Regions from separate parts of the Homo sapiens genome. Here region 2 is linked to region 1. The links are contacts of gene promoters, found by promoter capture Hi-C in blood cells and fetal thymus (Javierre and others, 2016). All regions are on one chromosome and are shown on one strand. Each heading gives the region's core, a stretch centred on a gene start or on the middle of the fragment in contact. The rest is flanking DNA. Distances are from core to core; before and after follow the strand shown. Region 1 holds the start of GATD3 (glutamine amidotransferase class 1 domain containing 3). Region 2 overlaps SUMO3 (small ubiquitin like modifier 3).

The links. Contacts are between HindIII fragments. The CHiCAGO score rates a contact against its expected background, and 5 or more counts as called.
Region 2: a contact is called between a fragment that was not itself captured here and the fragment with the promoter of GATD3 in region 1, in 1 of 17 cell types (naive B cells). The highest score is 6.2, in naive B cells.

Annotation. Positions count from the first base shown.
Region 1 is chr21:44,131,142-44,136,054 of GRCh38, forward strand. It overlaps GATD3 (glutamine amidotransferase class 1 domain containing 3), which reads left to right and starts at 2,542. Exons shown (of 7, transcript NM_004649.8): 1 at 2,542-2,697; 2 at 2,961-3,013. The coding sequence starts at 2,557. PWP2 (PWP2 small subunit processome component) reads left to right here. Exons shown (of 21, transcript NM_005049.3): 21 at 1-40. RefSeq lists enhancers at 2,042-2,569, 2,570-3,097, 3,098-3,625. The HindIII fragment of the contact is 13,325 bases long and covers 1,200-4,913 here.
Region 2 is chr21:44,802,765-44,807,092 of GRCh38, forward strand. SUMO3 (small ubiquitin like modifier 3) reads right to left here. Exons shown (of 4, transcript NM_006936.3): 4 at 2,853-4,276. The coding sequence ends at 4,187. It overlaps LINC01424 (long intergenic non-protein coding RNA 1424), which reads left to right. Exons shown (of 2, transcript NR_109928.1): 2 at 983-1,953. Among named protein-coding and RNA genes, the nearest start is that of LINC01424, 2.7 kb to the left of the region's middle. The HindIII fragment of the contact is 2,494 bases long and covers 1,171-3,664 here.

The sequences.
Region 1 (4,913 bases), core at 1,292-3,791:
GATGAAGTCTACACTTCAGATTAAAAAGGGTTATGTTGTATCCTGCTGTCTTGTGGGGGCTCAAGACCTGCCTGCCTTACCACCAGGGCCTCCGTCCTGGGGAAGCAGGCTGACAGAGCAGGGTGCTCCTGCTGTCTAGCGGGGGCTCTGCCTTGTGACCTGTGCATATCCTTGGGGTCAGGGGCACAGAGCCTCTCCCTGACCTCTTGGGGATGCTTTGGAGTCTGGGGCTGGGATTGGCCTGTCTTGGTGAGCTCACTCAGACCTGCACCAGCTCTGCGTGGGCCACACGGAGGAGGAGACAGCTCCTCCCCTCTGCAGTGCCCTTGGGAATAGTCATCATGAGAGAGGCTTGGGTCTCCATCATGGTAGGGCATCCTGGTCCCCACAGCTCAGTAACAGCAGCCTCCAGGGTCAGGACCTGAGGCTGACACTGAGGTGGGCACTTCACCGACTGCCAGTGCTGTCTGCCAGGCCCAGCCTGTCCCTCGCCAGCGGTGTGGCCCCCAAGACCCTGGGTAGTACCTGGCTCCCTTGCTTATCTGGGAAGTGGAGCTGATATCTGCCTGCCGGCCTCCCGGGGGTGGCGTGAGGCCAGATGTGCTAGAGAGTGGAGATGAATACGACAGGCAGTGCCTTGTGGCCCACAGCACTGTACCTGCAGGCCTGCAGACCAGAGGTCTTTGTAGAAGGGAGGAGCTCAGGCCCTGATGACACCAGGTGTTCTGTGGCTGCACAATCTCCGTGACCCAGACGAGAGAGAATCCTTAGCTATCGCCTACCCAAAGCACAAGTTCCAGTGTTCCCCTCCCTTGCCTCGCCCTTTTCCGTGAAACAATTTCCAGCGTTCCCCCTCCTCGCCTCACCCTTTTCTGTGTCACATGTGCATGGCGATGGACACCTGAGTAGTCGCCCCTGGGACAACTGGAGCTGCGGCTCTGCAGTGGGGTCTGGGAGCTCCCGGCCAGGGGCAGCTCCCGCACACTTGGTAGAGACAGGGTCCTGGCCCCCACACCGACTGAGTGAGAGTCTGCATTCGGCATTTCCTTTCTGAGTGGCGCTTGGTGTTTTTTTGTGCCATCCCACAACCCCATCGCTCCCACCAGCTGATGCTCCCTGGCTGGCCGCTCCCCAGGAGCTGAGAAGCCTGAAGAGGGCCAGGCACGGAGGAGCAGGAACGAGGACAGTCAAATGTGCCAAGCTTGTCTTTGGTTGTAACTGGTAATGTCCCATGTCTGTTATTCTAGTTCCCCACTATCTTGCAAGGATTGGCAGTAAAGTCCTAGTGATGGACAACGCGGCAGTGGGGAAAGTGACAGCCGTGGCTAGATCATCAGATGTGTCTGTAGAATCCGGTGTGTCCCTGTGAACATCCGCCAGCAGTAACCATTCACATTATTTCAAAAACCTGCATTATTAGGTTGAAAATGGGTAAATCGGGGAAAAAGCCAGCACTTATCCAGCTATTCCTCTGTGAACTAACCCATGCATAACAAACAGATTTTTTTAATGGAAGAATTCCAGCTAGGACCCGAGCAGCTGGGATCTTCACACTGACCGTCCATGCTGTGAACGTAAAAAACAAAAACAAAAAAACAAACCCAAACAGCGCCCGGGAATGGTGGCTCACGCCTGTAATCCCAGCACTTTGGGAGTCCGAGGCGGGCAGATCACCTGAGCTCGGGAGTTCAAGACCAGCCAGACCAACATGGAGAAACCCCGTCTCTACTAAAAATACAAAATTAGCCTGGCGTGGTGGCGCATGCCTGTAGTCCCAGCTACTTGGGAGGCTGAGGCAGAAGAGTCGCTTGAACCTGGGAGGCGGAGGTTGCGTTGAGCCGACTTCGCGCCATTGCACTCCAGCCCGGGCAACAAGAGGGAAACTCCGTCTCAAAAAAAAAAAAAAAAAAACCCAAACAGAATCGGCGGCTCACTTGCCCCCAGACTAACCCAGATCAAGCCCCTGGGTGGAACTGCAGTTTCCAGGATACAACATCCCGGGGTCAGTAAAACCCGGAGGGGTCGCTCCGTGGGAGCCGGAGCCGCGAGGAGACAGTCATGGAAGCGGAGGGGTAGTCCTGACCCCGCGTGGGTCCTGACGCCGAGATTAAGACGAGTGGCCATTTAGGAGGATGTGGACCCTGGACGCTCGTGGTGAGTTAAGGATGAGACGGAGGTAAGGTAAGAAGCGCCGGACTGAGCCGCCCCGAGGCAGCCTTGCTCTGCGGATGGCGGAAAGGGTGCGCCGCCTGTGGAGGCGTCCGATGGGGGCGGGGCTGGGGACCCCGGGAGTCACCAGCATCCCTCAGCCTCGAGCACGAGCCCTCAGCCACCACCGGAAGGAAGACAGGGTTCCCGGAACTCTATTCGGAGGCTCTGCGCAGGCGCGGCCCCCGCCCACCGGCGAACTCACTGGATAGGGCTGAGACGGGGGCGGGTCTTGGCTCCGCCCAGAAGGCTGCGCAGGCGCAGTCCCGACGAGCAACGCGTTTGTAGAGGGGTGGGTGCGCACGCTCTGTCCCTGCGTGACCTTCCGACCCCGCTGTCCTCACCGCAATGGCGGCTGTGAGGGTCCTGGTGGCCTCGAGGCTCGCTGCGGCATCTGCATTCACGTCCCTGTCCCCCGGCGGTCGGACGCCTTCCCAGCGCGCAGCCCTTCACCTCTCCGTGCCGCGCCCCGCGGCCAGGGTCGCGCTGGTGAGTGGACGGAGGGGGTGAGGTCAGCTCCCGCCTCCAGAGATCAGCCTTCGCTGTTCTCTGCCCAAGGTCGGCCCCTCTTCCTAGGTCCGCTCCCGCCGCCCCACGTCGGCTCCTTCACCCCAAGTCAGCTCCTGCGGCCCAGGTCGGCCCCATTTTCCCGGGTCAGCGCCCGCGGCCCAGGTCGGCCCCTTTCCCCCCAGTCAACTCCCGCCGCCCAGGTCGGCCCCTTTCCCCCGGGTCAGCTCCCGCTCCTCTCGCAGGTGCTGTCTGGATGCGGAGTCTACGATGGGACCGAGATCCACGAGGCCTCGGCGTAAGTCCTCAGGGGCAGCTGGTCCTCCACCCCGGGGGCCTCGAGAAGGCCTCTCCACCAGTGAAGTTTACTCTTTTTTGAACAGCTTAGAGAAAGCATGTATTTTATTTTATTTTTACTTTTTGTCTTTTGAGACAGCGCCCAGTCTGGAGTGCAATGGCGCGATCTTGGCTCACTGCGGCCTCCGCCTCCTGGGTTCAAGCGATTCTCCTGCCTCAGCCTTCCGAGTAGCTGGGACTACAAGCATGCACCACCACACCCAACTAATTTGTGTATTTTTGGTAGATACGGAGTTTCACCATGTTGGCCAGGCTGGTCTCAAACTCCTGACCTCAAGTGATCCTCCCGCTTTGGCCTCCCAAAGTGCTGGGATTACAGGCATGAGCCACTGCACCCGGCCGAGAGAGCTTGTATTTTAAATACCCTATTCTTGGCTAAAAAAAAGCAAAAACGACTTGCAAAACCCAGGGAGACGCTAAGAAAGAACAGTTTTTAAGTGTCGCTTATGCTGTCACCTAGAGCCTAGAAATGACTTAGCATTTCACTTGAGTGTTTTTCAGGACACACACATTTTGAAAACACTGAGATCACACTCACCCGTGTTTTGCAAATGTTTCTGACGCATGGGAAGTAATTCCCATTCATTCAGTTCTCAACATCATTTTAACAGTTGCGTGGTATTTCTGGGTCCTAGACAGGTTACTGTTTACGTAACTGGTCAGCTGTTGCTGAGTGCTTGGTGGCCTGATTTCCTGTGCTACTGGAAATGACTGCAGGCCGAACCAGTAGGGCAGGAGGCCACCACGCGTGCCAGGTACCTGTAGTTCCCATGTGGTTCAGGGTGAACTGGAGAGGGGAGAGCTGGGTGGTGGCGAAAGGGGTGTCAGGCCATGGAGAGTGGCCTGAGGCTGGTGGCTTTGTGGGTGGCCCACCTTGGCTGGTTGGAGTTGGCACTAGGCAGAGTGAGCTGGGGGAAAGGGCCAGGATGTGTTTCATGATTTGGCCTTGGTGGGATAGAAAATAGCCCCAGAATAGCTTGAGCCCTCCCAGGCAGAACGGCAGGGTCTTGTGTCTGGGGTGTCTGGGTGGATTTCTTATGGGTAGCGGAACCCAAGTGCCAGGGCCAGGTGCTGACCTCTCCCTCTGGCAAGTCACTGCACTTCATGCCTCGGTTTCCTCCTCCACGTAAGGGGCAGTGAGGGCTTAGTGTGTGGGTGGGCTTAGCCACCTATCTCCTGTTGGCACTGGGAGTTGCGGATGCCAGCGTGAGCCCCCATAATGTCAGCTGTTGTCCCCAGGAGGAGCTTCTGTTGCCCTTGCCCTTGGGGAGATGGAGCTGCCTGGCCTGTGGTGTTGTCCTGGGGTCTCTTGTGTCTCTCCCACCATCTGTGATGGGAAAGTTGAGGGAGACTAGAAATTGAACTAAGTAGTGACCGAAAGCCCCGTCACACCGTCTGTGCACGTGGCACTCTGAGCACACTGCTGCTTCTCACTCTTGGTGCTTGCAGCAAGCAACTGGAGGAGGGCAGCCAGGCCCTGGGTGTAGGTAGAGCACTCAGCAGCCGGGGACCCGCACGCCTCCAGGCTGTGCCCTCAGTGGAGTCACCCGGCCCCCATACCCCAGTTTGCAAAGGGAGCTGTTGGGACCAGCTGATCTCCATAGCCCACTTCTGAGGGTTTGTCATAGTCGTAACCCACCAACCGACAGTGAATTGGAATGGGGGTGTGGGGGACGTTTGGCTTGGTATGGAACCAACTGTAACTTTTTGCAGAGCAAGTAAGATATTAATATACATTAGGAATTTGCTCCTGGTACTTAGCTAAAATCCTGTTTTTAAAAATGTGTTAACACAAATCTGAGTGGGGCACGTTTTGAAGAGTTGTCTCTGGTTTTCCCCCG
Region 2 (4,328 bases), core at 1,168-3,667, 670 kb after region 1:
GTTGCAATAATCTATCATTTGTCTTTTCCTTTCCAGCATTGCAGATGATCCCTTGAAAAGAAGTCTGATCACATTCACACTCTGCTCCGCCCATTTCACTCAGTAAAGCTGAAGTCCTGCAGTGCTTTGCTCTGCCTCCGGTCACCCCGCCATACTCCCAGACCCTCCCTCCCTCTCACTCCACTCCAGCTGCCCTGGCCTGGTTCAGAGTCCCTGACTCTTCCCTCCCCGGAAACACTTTCTGGCGGCTCTTGTCCCCGACTCTTCCCACCTGCTCTTTCAGTCTTTGCTCAAATGTTGCCTCTTCAGTGTGGCCTAGGCCGTCACCACCCGGCCTTCACCGCATACCTTTTTCTCTGCAACACCTACTCAACACACCGTACTATAGAACTTACTGGCATGCTATAAATGTATTACCCTTATCTGTTGCCTCTAACCAAAAGCGTGTTCCATGAGAGCCATGGGTCCCTGCCTACTTCTGTCTTGTTTCTGGGGCAGCCTCTGTACCTGGACATCGTATACTCTTAACACGGATTTGTCAAATCAAATGAAATTTAACAATACAAACTTCACAAGTATGCATAGTGTAGGAAAATTCCCCAAAATTCAAAATTTCAGTCTACCTCCATCTTTTCAAATGACCACAGTGCTTTATAAAATGACATGGTCCTTTGAGACTGTTTCAGAGAGTAATTTGTGCAAATGCAATGTGCAAAAAGTCACAGTGGAGGTGTTTCCTCCCCCATTCAAGAGCTGCTCTCTCTCTAATCAGACAGCACCCCACACCCCAAGGCAGTCTGTCCAGTGCTCCTAAAGGAGAGCAGCTCCCCTTTTCCAGTTATGGGAGATGTGGGCAATAAAGCATTACTGTCAATGCCGTGATGTTCACTGCAACATATGCTTGATGTTTTCATAATTTTATCCATCTTTTTCAGACATCTTACTGCAGAACACTGTATGTTTTCCAATTATTATTTTTCAGAAATGTGGTTTACAGCTTCTATCAGGATTAGCTTCAGCTTCAAGTGACAAAAGTCACTTGAAATATGAGTTGCTGAAACAAGATGGCAGTCTCTCCCCTCAACAGGACTGTTACAACACCTTATCTTCAGAGAACCAGGCTCTCTGCAACATTTCAGGGACGTCGTTCAGTACCTTATGTGGAATTCAAGCTTAGCTGGGCATCCTATGTTTTAACTGGCTAACTCGTGGAACTCTCAACTTGGATCAAGTGGTAGTGGAGTCCCAGGGACTCTGAGCAGCCAGTGTGTGATACTGCAGGGCAGCACACCCTGGGGAGGCCAACTGTACAGAATAAAATTAATGCTTTCTATCTTTAGCAACTAAAGTTCTGAAATATAAAAAGGACCTCACAGCTTAACCCATGTTATACGGTGGGGTTTTCCCATGAACATCACGCGTTTCCAGCTGGGCACTCCTGCAGCATGGCTAAGATGACAACTCAAGTTCCCTGGGAGTGGGGGTTCCTGGGATGTGAACCTTTCGGTGCAAAAACTGGAGAAGTTCCAGTTGGGACCCCAGGCATAGATACTAGGATAAATAGGGCCTCTCTCCTCCAGGAGCATCAATTTAACCCAAAGATTCTTGGAGTCAGTTTCACATAAGTAATCTTGTTGAAAATAGTAATCCCAACAGATCTATTTTTCCAAATGCACCATTTGCATAAATCTCAGAAAAAAGACAACTTCAAGAACATACCTTTGCTGGGCACCATGGCTCATGCCTGTAATCCCAACTACTTGGCAGGCTGAGGCACGAGGATCACTTGAGGCCAGGAGTCTGAGATCAGCTTGGGCAACTGATTTATGGTTTGGATTTGTGTCCATGCCCTTCCTCTTCTGCCATGATTATAAGTTTCCTGAGGCCTCCCTAGCCATGCTTCCTGTACAGCCTACAGAACTATGAGTCAATTAAACCTCTTTTCTTTATAAATTACCCAGTCTCAGGTAGTTCTTTATAGTAATGTGAGGATGCACTAATACAGCAATATAGTGAGAGCTCCATCTCTACAAATCTTTTTTAGAAAGACAGGACATCCTGCTGGTTCTGCTGTGAGGTGTTGTGGGTGGAAGTTCAAGCAGCGCTGCCCTAATACATCCACATATGCTCCTGGCCATTATTCTTATCTAACCTACGGTGCCTGGGACACATCCCTTTCCTCATTGATTTTGGCAGCCGCTTCGCCCCAGGCTGCCTAGGGAATCTGGCAGATGTCCCCATCCTGTATTGTGCCTTAATCCGTGCACTCTTCCTGGTGCAAGTGAATCACGTGTTCCATCTCCACAGCTGCCCATCTTTCTTCACCTTGGGTTCATTCAACTGATGGGCTAAAACAGCTCATTTTCAACCTGGGTTTTGTTACACCACTGCACACTGGGAAATTCTTAAAGCCAAATCAATGTCAGTTCAGTTTCAAAGCAGATAGGTAAGTTGTCCATGGCAGAAGGAAAGCTGACTTACATTCAAACACCAGAAAACGAGAGATGTCCTAGACTAACACCCAAGCTCACCTGCCTCTAAAATCCACCCTTTCTTTACATACGAAACCCAGGAGAGGGAGGGTAACATGTCACAGTGATGCCAGCTCAGACAGCTGTCAGCCAGGAGGTCTCTGAGGAGAGGATGCATCCCTCAGCAGGAAGAAGGCTGGACTAGCATTGGTGATGTGCCAGGGGAGGGGAAATGAGCTGCCAGGCGAATACTAACCTTCCAGCGGCTAGCTTTTCAATCAAAGTTTCTCAGTGCAGTGGCTGCCTGGAATGGTCAATTCAAACACTGAATTGTACCAGTATGCCCCAACCTTCAAATGCAGTGTTTAGTAGAAGCCAAGAGACAGAATACCAAACTATATTTACTGTTTACAGTAGTAAAGGACAACAAATAATGTACAAATTGGTGAATAAACACAACAGAGCCAACAAACATCCCACCCGAGCCCATACAGCAAACAGGAAATGAGAACATTTCAGCAAGATTTCAAGCAAGCAAGAGATGATGGGTCATTGTTCAGGTGACTGTAAAAAGGCAGAGAATGGCCACCAAGCAGCAATGGAGCCTCAGGGAAGGACAATAGGCAGAACTATGAAAATGTTTAATTGGTATAGATCCCAAAATATTTCACAGAACTGAAATCACCAGACTAATGCATAAATTCAATACCTATTTGGAAAGCAGCACGGCACAAACCCACGAGAAGAACATGAAGTCATCATTCCATGGGTTCATTTGTAACCACACTTGGAAGTAGCTCTTATACACGACAACATAACTGCAAATTCAGCAATACTTAGTCTTACTTTTTTATGTATAGACCATAATCATTCATCAGAAGCAAATACTAGAAGAAATCTGAGGCCACAACACCATTACCAAATGAGAAATGTGGGAATTTCTTCAATATTAAGAGGGAGAAAAAGGCCAATTTTGGTTGTGCCAATCCTTGCCTGTGTACCAACGCCAGGTACTGAGCAGGGAGTGGGGTGGGAGGGGTGGCAGGGGGGTGGGTCCTGGGCCTCAGACCCCGAGGTTACATGCTTGAGGGCCAGAGAGCACGTGGGGTCAAATTACCAAAAGACTCGGTTATTTTTTAACCTTTGAAGAAGCATTCCAGTATTTTCCCTTCAACTTTTCCATATACTGACAAAGCTTAAATTTGCAATATTTAGCATTTTAATCACCTGTGCCTGTAACAGCAAGTGACAGTCTGTCCTCCCTACCAACCTTGCCCCCAATACCTGTCCAACAGCTGCATCCCCACTGCGGGAAACACCAATTCTCTATGTGACTGGAGTGAGCAGGGGAGAGGCAACCAACTCAGGAGTCAGATCCCTGGCCAGACTAAAAGCGAACATTCAGGCTATAATTTTGGGGTTAAAAAAATGTTGTAGGAGGGGGGGAAAACACAAATGAGCACACAAAAGTACCCACAATATCTTGCAACTCATTTTACCTGAACAAAGATAACAATTCTGATTGGCCCAATTTAAGTTACAGATTCATCCCTGCAGATATAGTTTTGAGTTGCACTTGAAGTACATCAAAGAGAGGAAAATCATCGTGGTGAATGTCCTCGAGTTTCCGCAGACACCTTTGTGGTCGGCATGGTCACGTGCTCACCATTCAACAGCAATGCGAGGATGGACGGCCCGGGCTGGGGACGGGCCCTCTAGAAACTGTGCCCTGCCAGGCTGCTCTCCGGCACACCTCCCGTCTGCTGCTGGAACACGTCGATGGTGTCCTCGTCCTCCATCTCCAGCTGTCATGGTTGTCACAACAGGCACAGCGAGAGAGAGGGGAGCCTGTTAGTT